Regions from separate parts of the Homo sapiens genome. Here region 2 is linked to region 1. Evidence: promoter capture Hi-C in 16 types of primary human blood cells and fetal thymus (Javierre and others, 2016). All regions are on one chromosome and are shown on one strand. Each heading gives the region's core, a stretch centred on a gene start or on the middle of the fragment in contact. The rest is flanking DNA. Distances are from core to core; before and after follow the strand shown. Region 1 holds the start of STRBP (spermatid perinuclear RNA binding protein). Region 2 overlaps PDCL (phosducin like).

Region 1 (7,544 bases), core at 1,121-3,620:
TCAAACCAATATGCTAGGATGATACCCACTACACACCTCTCCCAAATTTGGGGATGTGCACTCAGCTCTCCCTTACCCCTTCCCCCTTCCTCATTTACTGGGTTCTGGAATTAAAAGCAGGCTCAACGATCTCTCTGACCCTAGGAGTATGAACTTTCAGATATGACACTGAGTTTAATGTCCTCCACTTTCCATTAACATCATTCCAGGATCCAGGTCCCCCCACCCCTCAATCTCCAGTTTCTCTCAGTATGGAATTTAATCCTCTCCATTTAGTTATTTTTCCAACTTCTGCACTCTGCCTGATCTTCCTTAGACTCTCAGTGACCTAAAAATCTTGGCCCCTTTCATCTCTCAAACTCAAAGTGTTCCAATCTCTCCCCATACTTCCACTCCTTGGATCTTCCATACTCTCTTAAGCAACCTGTGTTCCTAGCTCTCTCCAACTTAAGCAGTCATTTCCTGCCCTAAACCTGGGCATCCTATTTCCCCCACCACCACCACCACCACTCCAATCCATCACCTATGCCTTTCTAGTTACAGACATGTCCACATACACCTCTGCCTTGCCCTTCCCTTACTCCACTATAGGTATTAAGCATTCTTCTACATCCTCTACCCCAAAATAGCCTGTCTACCTTCCTTCTTTCTCCCTACCTCCCTTCTCCCTACAGCACAAAATTCAGTGCCCCAAACCTGTGCTTCCCTCCCTCCACCTACTGTACTCCAGACCTGTCCACCTTCCCCTCCAGTCTATCCCGTTGTCCCCCTCTACTGATTTCGTTCTCACCCTCCCCTCCACCTTCCTCCTCCCCAACCGCTCCACACTTCCCGCCTCAGAAATCTTTCCTTCCATTTGTCCCCACACTTTACCTGCCACTCCAAGAACACTTCCCTTTCCCCACCCCCTTTTGCCCTCCACCTCACACACTCCACGCCACCCCACACCTGTCCCTCTCCCCCAGCTCCTGCCCCTAACGTCCTCCAACACTTGCCAAGAACCCCTCACCCTCCGTCCTACCTCAAAATTCCCTCTCTTGCTGATCCCACCTTCTTCCATACTTCCTGCATAAACACCCTCCATTTCACGCACTTCTCCCGCTATCCTTTAAATGCCCCACACACCTCCTGCTCTCCATCCCCATCACCCTTCTCCTACTGTCCCCACCTCTCTCTGCAAGCCCTCAAACTAAGTCTCTGCCCCAATGAACTTCCCCCTTCCACCCCATACTCCTCTTCCCTGAGCACCAGATACCTGCCTTTTTATCCTTACATGTCAACCCCCTCCCGCCTCCCTGCAGGCTCCCCTATACACCTGGCCACACACTCCCTCACACCCCTCGCAGGTCTCCTGGAGCCCCTGGGCCTACCCTTCATTTCCCTATCACCCCAGAAGCCTAGGCACCCTGCTCCCCTCCCTCCCTTTCAGGCGCTCCCTGCCTGCCCTCACTTCCCCCTGCCCCGACCCCCTCCTCCATCGTTCCCCTTCACGGGCGTCCCGGTGGCCTTCCTAATACCCGCCCCACTCCCTGCCCCTGGCACGCAGCGCTCCTTCCAGTCCTGCTCGAGTCCCCAGTCTTCTCCCTCCATTCCCACCCCACTCGTCCCTGCCCTCCCCAAAAGCCCCCTCATTCCCTCTTGAACCCCACAATATAGTGCCCCCCCCCACCGGACGGAATGTCCTCCATCTCGCACTCGCCTGGCCCAGGGGGCCCCCCAAACCTGCCTGAAGGCTCTCCTCCTCCATTGGGCCGGATCCCTCTGCACCCCTATTTACCCCCAAATCTGCCCACACCTTCCGCCTGCCCCCCGAAGCCTCTCCCCAGCTCCTGCCCCCAATGTCCTCCAACACCTGCCCCGAGCCCCGAGCCCTCCGTCCCGGAAGACCTCCCGGCACCGCGTCCCCCAACCCTGCCCACGCCCTCCCCTGATCGGCCGGGACCCCGTCCCCGCGAAGGTGAGGAAGGCTGCCCGCTGCCCTTGCCCGAAGCGGCCGGGGCACCGCAGCGGCGGCGGCGGCGGCCACAATGCCGGAGCCGCGGGGCCGGGATTGCTCCCTGCTCTCCGCCTCGGCCGCCACCGCCGCCGCCGCTGCTAAGGACGCACAACAAACAATGCGGGGCCCGGGCCGGCTCCGCCAACCGCCTCAACCGCCGCCTTAACCGCCGCCCGCCCGGGACGGCCCGCCGCGCAGGCGCCCGCCCCGCCGCCGGAGCCTACCCGCGCCGCCGCGCTCTGCCCGCGCCCGGTACCCGCTCCCGCTCCGCCGCCGCCGCCACCTCGCCCGCTCGCGTCTCCGGCTCCTCTGCCCAGCGGCGGCGGCTGCGGCGGCTGCTGCCCTGGTGGCGCTCGCGGCTCCGGTCTCCGCTTCGGCGGCGGCAGCGGCGGCAGCGAGCACGTGACACCGTCGAGCGCGCCCATTGGCCAGGCCAGGGGGCGGGCCCCGCGGCTGCTGGGGAACGGAAAGCCCGCCCCCTCGTTCGCCGCGCGCCCCCTCCACGCGCGTCCTGCCGCACCTGAGAGCGCCGGCCAGCGCCCGCCGCCGCCTTGCTGTGCCGCCGCCTGCGCCAAGTGCGCACCTGGGAGCGCGCAGGGAGCACTCGCCGCCGGCGGCCTTATGCACCTGCCAGCGGACGCTTACGTAAACTGCGTCCCCGCCTTCCTCCCGGCCCCAGGCCCCCGCTCGCTGCAGCACCTGAGCCCCGCTGCGCTAGCGGCGTAACTGCGGCGGAGCGGAGACGAGCTGCGCTGGGAGGCTAGCGAAATGCACGGAAACTTCGTAACTTCCGAACCTGGGAGCTGCGCCGAGCCGCGGCGGCTAGCCGCCTTCCCCGGGCCCCGCACCCCAGTGCGGGATGCCCCCCAACCCCAGCAGCCACACAAATGGAGTAGGCGTCGCACTGCCTCCCGAGGTAGAGGGGCAGGCCAGTAGGCTTTGACTTGTGCCACCGCCCACCTACTTGCTGGCTGTGTGACCTTGGCCAAGTTACCAAGAACCGTTCTGAGCCTCAGTTTCCTCATCAGGAAAACTGGGACAATAATTCCAATTTAGGAGCTGTTGGGGAGATGGCATAAGACAATAGGTGTGAATCCTGGCACACAGCAGTCGCTGAACAGAAGCTGCTACAATCACCTCTCCTTCACCTGCCTATAATGAACCTCGCTGGGATTGAGTTTGGGCCCAGGACCTCTCTGACCTCCTTATGGTTGGGTCAGACTTTGGCTGAACACCTACCAGCTCTGTGCCAGGGGCGGCGCTGGGGAAGAATTAAAGGTTCGCTTTCTATTCTACAGTCCCTGGCCTCAAGTTCTTGGTGCCCAGCATTCTGCTTGCCAGTATACAGTCCCTGCTGTATACCGGGGGGTTTGCAGGCTGCAGGGATGCACTGGCAAATGAGACAATGTCTTTGCCCTAAGACAATTCCCAGCCTGGAGCAGAAACGACCTGACCACTCAGTGCCAAGACAGAGGACCTTGAACAGCCCAGGGGTTGAGGAGGGACTCCCCACAACAGCCCCCTTGGGGCCCCTTTTCATCTTTCTAACACACCAGGCTCAAATATTTTAACAGCTCTGTTTCATTCACAGAATAAAGTGTAAAAAACCCAATTTCAACTGAAAAGGCCTTGGTGATCTGGCCTTAAGCTTCAAGGTGCACGCCCTTCCCTTTGCCCCTCCTTCAGGCCAATGTGACCCTCCAGCCACACAGAACTACAGTACTGTTGTTTCCAGAGTATGCCCAGGTGTGTAGGAGCCTGAGTCTCCTGAGACAGATGCCAGGCCGCAAATCCCTTTCTAAACCCTCTCCCCACCTCTGACCACTCACACCTTCCTTGACCCTCCTGAAAAAAATCCTGGGTATCCTTATCAATCAGCTCAGAGTATATTCTCTGGAGATCCTTGGCTGCCTCAGACACATGGTCTAAGCTCCCTCGGCTTGAACATAGTCCTGTTAAGCTATATGTATTCTCATGGCACTAGATTGTAATTGTTTAGCTGTCTGTCTCCTCCCTGGTCTCTCAGTCCCTTGAGGACAGGGTCATCTTCCTGCCTAAGTGTGTTAGGGAAGACTACACGTGCACATGACATGAGATCATTAAAGCTGGGTTTTGTAGGATGCCCATAAGTATCAGAGGGAGAAGAGGCGCCACACTGTAAAGATCCAGATTCACTGCACACTAGCTGTGTGATCTTGGAAAATCAATCTCTCTAGTCTAAGTTTACTCATCTGCCAAGTGAGACTAATAGTATTGCATATTGTAGGGTTGTTAGAAGGATTCATTGCAACCGTATATCTAAGGCACTCAGCACGGTGTCCAGCACTTGGTTACATTTTTAATTTTTTTAAAATAGAAGAACAGCATGGCATTAAGGATTCAATAGTATTTCTTGTTTCAATATCTTTATTGGGTTTGTAACTCCAAACACTGAGACAAAAGCATGCAAATTATATAAAAGGAAAGAAAGTAAAAAGTTAGGCCAGACGCAGTGGCTCACGCTGGTAATCCTAGCACTTTTGGGAGGCCGAGGCGTGTGGATCACCTGAGGTCAGGAGTTCAAGACCAGCCTGGCCAATGGGGCAAAACCCCATCTCTACTAAAAATACGAAAATTAGCCGGACGTGTTGGTGTGTACCTGTAATCCTAGCTACTCGGGAGGCTGAGGCAGGAGAATCGCTTGAACCCGGGGGGCAGAGGTTGCAATGAGCCGAGATCCCGTGATTGCACTCTAGCCTGGACAACAAGAGCGAAACTCCGTCTCAAAAAAAAAGTTAATGTCTCTCTCCCTTCCTGCCCTTGACTCCACTCCCACTACCCCAATCCCAACTCCAGAGTAGTTACTGTTAATTTTTCATGTCCCTCATTACATGTCCAAAGAAAAAAGAAAGTTGCAGAAAATTATTTATCTGTAATGTGTATGTTGGATTCTCCATAGAAAAACGTCAGAAAGGATTAAACACCAACCACTATTGGTTATGCCTGGAAGATAGAACTGGGTGTGGGGATGGAGGACTTAAAAATTTCTGCATTGTTTTAATTTTTTAAGGATACATATGCAGATTTTTGTTTTGCTTTGTTTTTGAGAGGGGTCTTGCTCTGTCGCCCAGGCTGTAGTGCAGTGGCGCAATCTTGGCTCACTGTAACCTCTGCCTCCTGGGTTCAAGTGATACTCTTGCCTCAGCTTCCTGAGTAGCTGAGATTACAGGCGCCTGCCACCATGCCTGGCTAATTTTTGTATTTTAGTAGAGATGAGGTTTCACCATGTTGGTCAGGCTAGTCTTGAACTCCTGACTTCAAATGATCTGCCCGCCTCGGCCTCCCAAAGTGTTGAGATTACAGGCGTGAACCACCGTGCCCAGCCTGTTTTGTTTTGAGACAGAGTCTCACTCTGTCACCCAGTCTGGAGTGCAGTGGCACAATCTCGCCTCACTGCAACCTCAGTCTCCCAGGTTCAAGCCATTCTCCTGCCTCAGCCTCCCAAGTAGCTGGGATTACAGGCGTGTGCCTCCACACCCGTCTAATTTTTTTTGTATTTTTAGTAGAGATGGGCCAGGCTGGTCTCGAACTCCTGGTCTCAAGTGATTCTCCCGCCTTGGCCTCCCAAAGTGCTGTGATTACAGGCGTGTAATCACACATAGATTTTTAACAATTTACTTGAGGTATAGTTTACACATAAAATTATGCATTTCAAAAATGTACAATCCAATGATTTTCAGTAACTTCACTAAGTGGTGCAACATTAACATAAGTCAGTTTCAGAACATTTAGCATACCTTGCCGGGCACGGTGGCTCAGCACTTTGGGAGGCCAAGGTGGGCAGATCACGAGGTCAGGAGATCGAGACCATCCTGACCACCATGGTGAAACCCCGTCTCTACTAAAAATACAAAAATTAGCTGGGCATGGTGGTGGACACCTGTAATCCCAGCTACTCAGGAGGCTGAGCCAGGAGAATGGCTTGAACCCAGGAGGCAGAGGTTACAGTGAGCCAAGATCATGGCACTGCACTCCAGCCTGGTGACAGAGGAAAACTCTGTCTAAAAAAAAAAGAACATTTAGCATACCTTATGGATCCCCCGTAAGACTCTCATGCTCATTAAGTGTTAATCCCATTTCCAACCCTGGCCACAAGCAAACACCAGTCTACTTTCTGTCTCTATTTTTTGTTTTTTCTGGTATATCTGATACTTCTTTTTTTTTAGACAGAGTTTTGTTCTGTCACCCAGGCTGGAGTGCAGTGGCGCAATCTCGGCTCACTGAAACCTCTGTCTCCCAGGTTCAAGCGATCCTCCCACCTCAGCCTCCTGAGCAGCTGGGACTACAGGCATGCCATTGTGCCAGGTTAACTTTTTGTATTTTTTTTAGTAGAGACTGGGTTTCATCATGTTGCCCAGGCTGGTCTCAAACTCTGGGCTCAAGGGATACTCCCTCCTCAGCCTCCTAAAGTGCTGCAACTACAGGTGTGAGCCTCTGCACAGGGCCTGATACATTTTTGTAAAAAAATCAAACAGACTGGTTGGGTGCCGGGGGCTCATGCCTGTAATACCAGCACTTTGGGAGGCCGAGGTGAGCGGATCGCCTGAGGTCAGGAGTTAGGGACCAGTCTGGCTAACATGGTGAAACCCCATCTCTACTAAAAATACAAAAATTAGCCGGGTGCAGTGGCACGTGCCTGTAGTCCCAGCTACTCAGGAGGCTGAGGCAGGAGAATCACTTGAACCCAGGAGGCGGAGGTTACAGTCAGCCAAGATGGTGCCACTGCACTCCAGCCTGGGAGACACAGCAAGACTCCGTCTCAAACAAACAAACAAATAAATAAATAAATAAATAAATAAAGTAGACCTTTTCGGCCTGGCACAGTGGCTCACACCTGTAATCTCAGCACTTTTGGATGCCGAGACGGATGGATCTCTTGAGGCCAGAAATTTGAAACCAGCCTGGCGAACATGGTGAAACCTTGTCCCTACCAAAAAATAGACAAATTAGCCAGGTGTGGTGGCACATGCCTGTAGTTCCAACTACTTGGGAGGCTGAGGTGGGAGAATCACTTGAACCTGGGAGACAGAGTTTTCAGGGAGCCAAGATCACACCACTGCACTCCAGCCTGGGTGACAGAACCTCTTGAAAAAAAAAAAAAAAGAAAGAAAGAACAAAAATCAAATAGACCTTTTAGGAAAAAAGAATAAAGGCCAGGTGCTGTGGCTCATGCCTGTAATCCCAGCACTTTGGGAGGCTGAGGTGGGTGGATCACCTGAGGTCAGGAGTTCGAGACCAGCCTGGCCAACATGGTGAAACCCTGTCTCTACTAAAAATACAAAAAATTAGCCAGGTGTGTTGGCAGGCACCTGTAATCCCAGATACTTGGGAGGCTGAGGCAAGAGAATTGCTTGAACCCAGGAGGCGGAGGTTGCAGTGAGCCAAGTTCACGCCATTGCACTCCAGCCTGGGTGACAAGAGGAAAACTCTGTCTCAAAAAAAAAAAAAAAAAAAAAAAGGAAAAAGAAAAAGAAAAGAAAAAAAGGAATAAAAGTGTCACCTAATCTCA
Region 2 (6,803 bases), core at 3,447-5,946, 450 kb before region 1:
GTCTCGATCTCCTGACCTCGTGATCCGCCCGCCTTGGCCTCCCAAGGTGCTGAGATTACAGGCATGAGCCACCGCGCCCGGCCGGAATTGGGATCTTAAAGCCCTTTTTTAATAAGTGGGATCAGGGTTTTGTAGAGGATGGATAGTTTAAAAAAAAAAAAACAAAAAACTGATGACCTCTATGGATCTAAGGAATGTTTGCTAGGTGCCTCACCATGCTAAGAACTTTAGCTCATTGAACACTTCCAGCCACCCTGTGAGATAGTTGCTATGATTATCCTCACTTGGGAGATCACAGCTCAGAGACACCAAGAAATTTAACCACAAGCATTCACAATCCAAAATAAATTCTTGGAGTGGAGGGAATCAATGGGAGTGAGGCTTCTCTGAGAACACAACTTCATATTCTGTTGGCTTTTAAACTGGGTAAATGTTTTATATGCTCAAAAAGGTGGAACCAAAAAGGATGTATTGGAAAAAAAAAAAAAAGCAAACGCTAGGTCAAACACAGTGGCTTACGCCTGTAATCCCAGCACTTTGGGAGGCTGAGGCAGGAGGATCGCTTGAGCCCAGGAGCTTGAGGTTGCAGTGAGCTGTGATTGCGCCACTGCACTCCAGCCTGGGCAACAAAGTGAAACGCTGTCTCTTAAAAATGAAATGAAATTAAAATAAAGAAAATCACCTTTACGCATACCCCCAATGTAATAATTTGGTTCAGGCAAGGATGCCAAGACTATTAGGTGAAACGTTATTGTAAGAAGAGGATATTCACACAGTCTCAAAGTATCACAACACAGATTTCTTTCTGCTAACAAAGGGGAAATAATTTTACTATATGAAGATTTGTCATTCACCACCTTAACCAAGTGATTAAACTTAGCATCATCAAGCTGACATCAGATACTCCCTGACTTATGTAGTAAGAACTACACAACATCACCTCTGGTGATTGTATTATTGCCAGAAATAAGGAAACAATCTGAGAAGCCAGAAATTGGAGCATTTTTTATGACAGTTGGCCTGGATTCTTTAAAAAGCCTCAGCAGAAGGGTGGCCAGGCTGCCAGGTGGCTGGGCATGATGGACCCAGCTGCCGGTCTAGCCCTTCCTTATGCCCAGGCTTAGACCCATCCCCAGTCACCTAAATGAATAAATGGTTAAAAGTCACTGATAAGGCTGGGTGTGATGGCTCACGCCTGTAACCCCAGCACTGTGGGAGGCCTAGGCCGGCAGATCACTTGAGGTCAGGAGTTCGAAGCCAGCCTGGCCAACATAATGAAACCCCACCTCTACTAAAAAAAAAAAATACAAAAATTAGCCACATGTGGTGGTGCACACCTGTAATCCCAACTACTCAGAAGGCTGAGGCAGGGGAATCGCTTGAACCTGGGAGGCAGAGGTTACAATGAGCCGAGATCATGCCACTGCACTGCCAGCCTGGGCATGGGCAACAGAGCAAGACTCCATCTCCACAGGAAAAAAAAAAAAAAAAAGACTGATATGAGCCAGGCATGGTGGCTCACCCTGTAATCCCTGTACTTTAGGAGGCTGAGGCAGGTGGATGGCTTGAGCTCAGGAGTTTGAGACCAGCCTGGGCAACATAGTGAGGCCCCGTCTCTACAAAAAATACAAAAATTAGCTGGGCACAGTGTTCCACACCTGTAGTCCCAGCTACTCAGTTGACTGAGGTGGGAGGATGGCTTGAGCCAAGGAGGTGGAAATTACAGTGAGCCAAGCTCACACCACTGCACTTCAGCCTGGGCAACAGAGCCAGACCCTGCCTCAAAAACAAATCACTGATATGAGAAACAAGAACAAAGGCAAGGGGACTATACTAGCTTAAGAGACTAAAGTCACAAAAATGAAATGTGTGAACTTGATTGCGTCCTGAATTTTTTTCAAAGAATATTAAAGAAATTTTGGGAACAAATAGAGAAAATTGATATGAACTGTGTTTTAGATATTGTTGAATTACTGTTTATTCTCTTGAGTGTAACAATGGTATTTTGGTTATACAGGATCAAGACCCTTTTCTTAGGAGAGTCAGTGAAGTATTTAGGAGCAAAGTCAAGATGTCTGCAAACTTACATCTCAATAGTTCCGCCAGGCGCAGTGGCTCACGCCTGTAATCCCAGCACTTTGGGAGGCTGAGGCGGGCGGATAACGAGGTCAGGAGATCAAGACCATCCTGGCTAACACGGTGAAACCCTGTCTCTACTAAAAATACAAAAAATTAGCCGGGTGTGGTGGTGGGTGCCTGTAGTCCCAGCTACTTGGGAGGCTGAGGCAGGAGAATGGCGTGAACCCAGAAGGTGGAGCTTGCAGTGAGTCGAGATCGCGCCACTGCACTCCAGCCTGGGTGACGGTGAGACTCCGTCTCAAAAAAAAAAAAAAAGTTCCACAGAAAACAGAGATAAACAAATGCAGCAAAATATCAACTTTTGATGAAGCCACGTGAAAGATATACAGATGTTAATGGTAATATTCTTTTCAGTTTCCTATAGGTTTCAACGTTTTCCAAATAAAAGATTAATAATTAACTAATACAATGTGAGAGTCTGAAGCATCTGACGAAATCATCTAGCCAGATGCGTGGCTCACACCTGTAATCCCAGAACTTTGGGAGGCTGAGGCAGGAGGATCGCTTGAGCCCAGGAGTTTGAGACCAGCTTGGGCAACAAAGTGAGACACTCCACTCTACAAAAAATAAAAAATTAGCCAGGCACAGTGGCATGCACCTGTAGTCCCAGCTACTCGGCAGACGGAGGCAAGAGGATCCCTTGAGCCCAACGGTTCAAGATTACAATGAGCTGTGATTGCGCCACTACACTCCAGCCTGGGTAACAGAGCAAGACCCTGTCCCGAGGGGGAGGAAAAAAAAAAAAAGATCATCTAGTTCAACTCCTCACTTTACAAATGGGGAAATGAGGCCCAGGAGAGGAAGAGATGTATCTGAGGGCACTTAACTAGTTACTGAAAGAGCCAGAGTCCACATTAACTATTCTCCCTATTGCTGTCACTTGTAGTGGGACACGGGTGGCAGTGTGTGGAGGAAGGAGCCTAAGAGATGGATTTTGGGAGGGAGGACTCTCTTGAGTCATGGTAGGAAGGAGATGCCCCTCAACAGGGGCACATTGTGGGTCACTGCCACAGCTGAGACAGGAGGAGATTCTGGCCTGAAACACAGGCAGAATTGAGAGACCCAAGGCTCCATCAGCTCAACTCCTTTTCGCTCTTTGAATTCTCTTCTTGGCCGGTCGCGGTGGCTCACACCTGCAATCCCAACACTTTGGGAGGCCGAGGCAGCCAGATCACCTGAGGTCGGGAGTTCGAGACCATCCTGGCCAACATGGTAAAAACCTGTCTCTACTAAAAATAAAAAAATTAGCCTGGTATGGTGGCACGTACCCGTAGTCCCAGCTACTCAGGAGGCTGAGGCAGGAGAATCGCTTGAACCCGGGAGGCAGAGGTTGCAGTGAGTTGAGATCACGCCACTGCACTCCTGCCTGGGCGACAGAGCTAGGCTCTGACTCAAAAAAATAAATAAAAATAATGAAATAAATAAATGAGTAAAAATAAATTATCTTCTTTATTTCCTTCCTCTATTCTCTCCACTGTCTTTCAATGTTTCTATTTTATTGTCACTTGATCAGTTTGCTTTCTCCATCAAGAATATGACATCAGGAAAATAGTACAAATGTTGGAACTTCACAAACCTGATTTTAATCCTGCCCTGCCCACTAGCTGTATAAGTTGAAATGTCACTTAACTCTGCTAAGTCTTGGTTTCTACACCTTTGAACAGTTACTACTTCCTACTTTGAAAAGATGTGCCATTCAATGAGTCAATGTGTTCATTCTTAAATGTTTATTCATCTTTTGCCAAGTGCCAAGCACAGTGTGGGCACTAGACCAATAAAAACACTTCTGTGTGTTCCAGGTACTTTATATTAATTGACTCATGTTACTATCAGCATTTCACAGATGAGGAAACTGAGGCATGGAGGGATTCAGCATCTTGCTTCCAAAGGTAGTATCAGGCTGTGCCTAGAGACCAAGCCCTTACTCTATGCCAGTGGTCCCCAACCTTTTTGGCACCAGGGAACGGTTTCCTGGAAAACAATTTTTCCACAGACTGGGGTTGGGTGGGGGGAGTTTCAGGATGATTCAAGCGCATTGCATTTATCGTACACTTTATTTCTATTATTATTACATTGCAATACATAACAATTATACAACTCACCAAAATGTAGAATCAGTGGGAGCCCTGAGCTTGTTTTCCTACAACTAGACGGTCCCATCTGAGGGTGACGGGGAACAGTGACAGATCGGCAGGTGCTGGATTCTCATAAGCAGCGGACAACCTACATCCCTCGCGTGGGCAGTTCACAATAGGGTTCGCACTCCTATGAGAATCTAATGCCACCGCTGATCTAACAGGAGGTGGGGCTCAGGCAGTAACGGAAGCAATGGGAAGCGGCTGTAAAAACAGATGAAGCTTAGCTTGCTGGCCCGCCGCTCACTTCCTGCTGTGCAGCCTGGTTCCTAACAGGCCACAGAACGATACTGATCTGTGGCCCAGGGGTTGGGGACCGCTGCTCTATGCCATACATGAGGAAGAAAACAAAGTCCGTGCCTTCCTGAGACTTTCATTCCAAACGTGAAATCTGGAAGACTCTGGGACAGTTTGTGATAGACAAATGGTTCCTCTTTCCTTCCCCCAATTCCATGGCTAAAAGGGAGAATCACAAAATAAAACAGGAGAGAGGCAATCTGAGAGCTACCCCATTTCAACTCCCTCCCTCTTTTAATAAGGAAACCAAGAGCAGTGAGCACTTGTTCTGTCACAGGTGCACTCACTCACCTTAATCCATAGGTCAGTGACTCTCAAACTTGAACAAGCTTCAGAATCACCTACAGGGCTCATGAAAATAGTTTGCCTAGTCATTCCCAGAATTCCTGATTCAGGAGGTCTAGGGTGAAGCCCGAGAATTTGCATTTCTGACAAGTTCCCAGGTGATGCTGAGGCCGCCACTGCTGCTGGTGCTGCCCCAGCTACCACACATGAGAACCACCGTCACAGAACAACTCCACAAAACAGGTTATTTTTGTTCCCATTTTACAGATGAGGAAACTGAGCATCAGGAAAGGTAGGTTTCTTACCAGAAAGAAGCTACACCACTAGACTGCCAGACAGGATTTGAACCCAGATCTGCCTGACTCTAAAGCCCATGCTGCTTCCACGACACCAAAGTTAAGAGATCTAACATTCTCGGCCCGATGCGATGGCTCATGCCTGTAATCCCAGCACTTTGGGAGGCCGAGGCAGGTGATCACCTGAGGTCAGGAGTTCGAGACCAGCCTGGCTAACATGGTGAAACCCCATCTCTACTAAAAATACAAAAATTAGCCAGGCATGGTGGCAGGCACCTGTAATCCCAGCTACTCAGGAGGCTGAGGCAGGAGAATCGTTTGAATCCAGGAGGCGGAGGTTGCAGTAACCTGAGATTGTGCCACTGTACTCCAGCCTGGGCAACAGAGTGAGACACCATCTCCAAAAAAAAAAGTCTAGGATTTCTCCATTACCATTACATGTCTACTCTTTTTTTTAATTTTTTTTTTTTTTTTTTTTTTTGAGACAGGGTCTCTGTCGCCCAGGTTGGAGTGCAATCATGGTTCACTGCAGCCTTGACCTCCCAGGCTCAAGAGATCCTCCTGACTAAGCCTCCCAAGTAGCTGGGACTAGAGGTACAACACCGTGCCCAGCTAATTTTTTCTATTTTTTGTAGAGATGAGGCCTCACTATGTCTGCCTCAGCCTCCCAAAGTGCTGGAATTACAGGCATGAACCACCACACCCAGCCCTACTGTATTTTAGAACTTCTGTTCTTGAAAAGCAAAGTCAAGTTCCCTGTAAGTGCATAATATATTCTCATTTTCAATGAGAACAGAAGATGGTTTGTAAAAGCTATTTTTAAGTGTCCCTATTTGCCCAGTAATTCCTCTTCTAGAAATCTATGAGAATAATTCAAAATATAGCCCAAAACACAAAGGCATTAAGTGTTCAGCAAAACACTGAGAATCTAAATAACCAATATAAAGAGATTGGTTAGGCCGTGCAGCGTGCTCACGCCTGTAATCCCGGCACTTTAGGAGGCCGAGGCGGGCAGATTACCTGAGGTCAGGAGCTTGAGACCAGTCTGGCCAACATGGTGAAACCCCGTCTCTAGTAAAAATACAAAAATTAGCCAGGCGTGATGGCATGTGCCTGTAGTCCCAGCTACTCAGGAGGCTGAGGCAGGAGAACTGCTTGAACCCAGGAGGTGGAGGTTGCAGTGAGCCGAGATCACGCTATTGTACTCCAGCCTGGGTGACAGAGCGAGACTCCATCTCAAAGAAAACAAACAAAATAAATAAATAAAAATAAAGAGACTGGTTAAATAAATTATTATATATCCAAATGATGAAATATTATGAAGCCACTGAAAATTATTTATTTAGAATGTTTGAAACATCAAAGTATTTATGATACAACACTAAATAAGGAAGAGCACAGAACTAAATTCAGTAAGTACTCAATGTTTATAAAAATATTGAAAAAAGACTGAAAGGAAATAAGCTAGACTAACAATACTTCCCTGCTTCTAATAATTTTCAATACATTCCACCCTTTCTACTACAACGAGCTTTCTTAGTCAAAAAAAAAAAAAATGCACTCTGTTTGTTGACTAAATACTTTCAAGACTCTTTTACAGTTAGTCAATTCCTGAAAAGCCAGGAAAATCAAAATTGTGAATTTTAAGGCT

What was found. The method cuts DNA at HindIII sites, captures the fragments that hold promoters and counts their contacts. A CHiCAGO score of 5 or more calls a contact.
Region 2: a fragment that was not itself captured here is called in contact with the fragment with the promoter of STRBP in region 1 in 1 of 17 cell types (naive CD4 T cells); the score reaches 5.0 in naive CD4 T cells.

What each region holds. Positions count from the first base shown.
Region 1 is chr9:123,266,216-123,273,759 of GRCh38, forward strand. STRBP (spermatid perinuclear RNA binding protein) reads right to left here and starts at 2,371. Exons shown (of 19, transcript NM_018387.5): 1 at 2,221-2,371. RefSeq lists silencers at 2,097-2,146, 2,317-2,796 and an enhancer at 2,197-2,697. The HindIII fragment of the contact is 5,570 bases long and covers 1-3,642 here.
Region 2 is chr9:122,811,878-122,818,680 of GRCh38, forward strand. It overlaps PDCL (phosducin like), which reads right to left. Exons shown (of 4, transcript NM_005388.5): 4 at 6,220-6,803. Among named protein-coding and RNA genes, the nearest start is that of PDCL, 13 kb to the right of the region's middle. The HindIII fragment of the contact is 404 bases long and covers 4,495-4,898 here.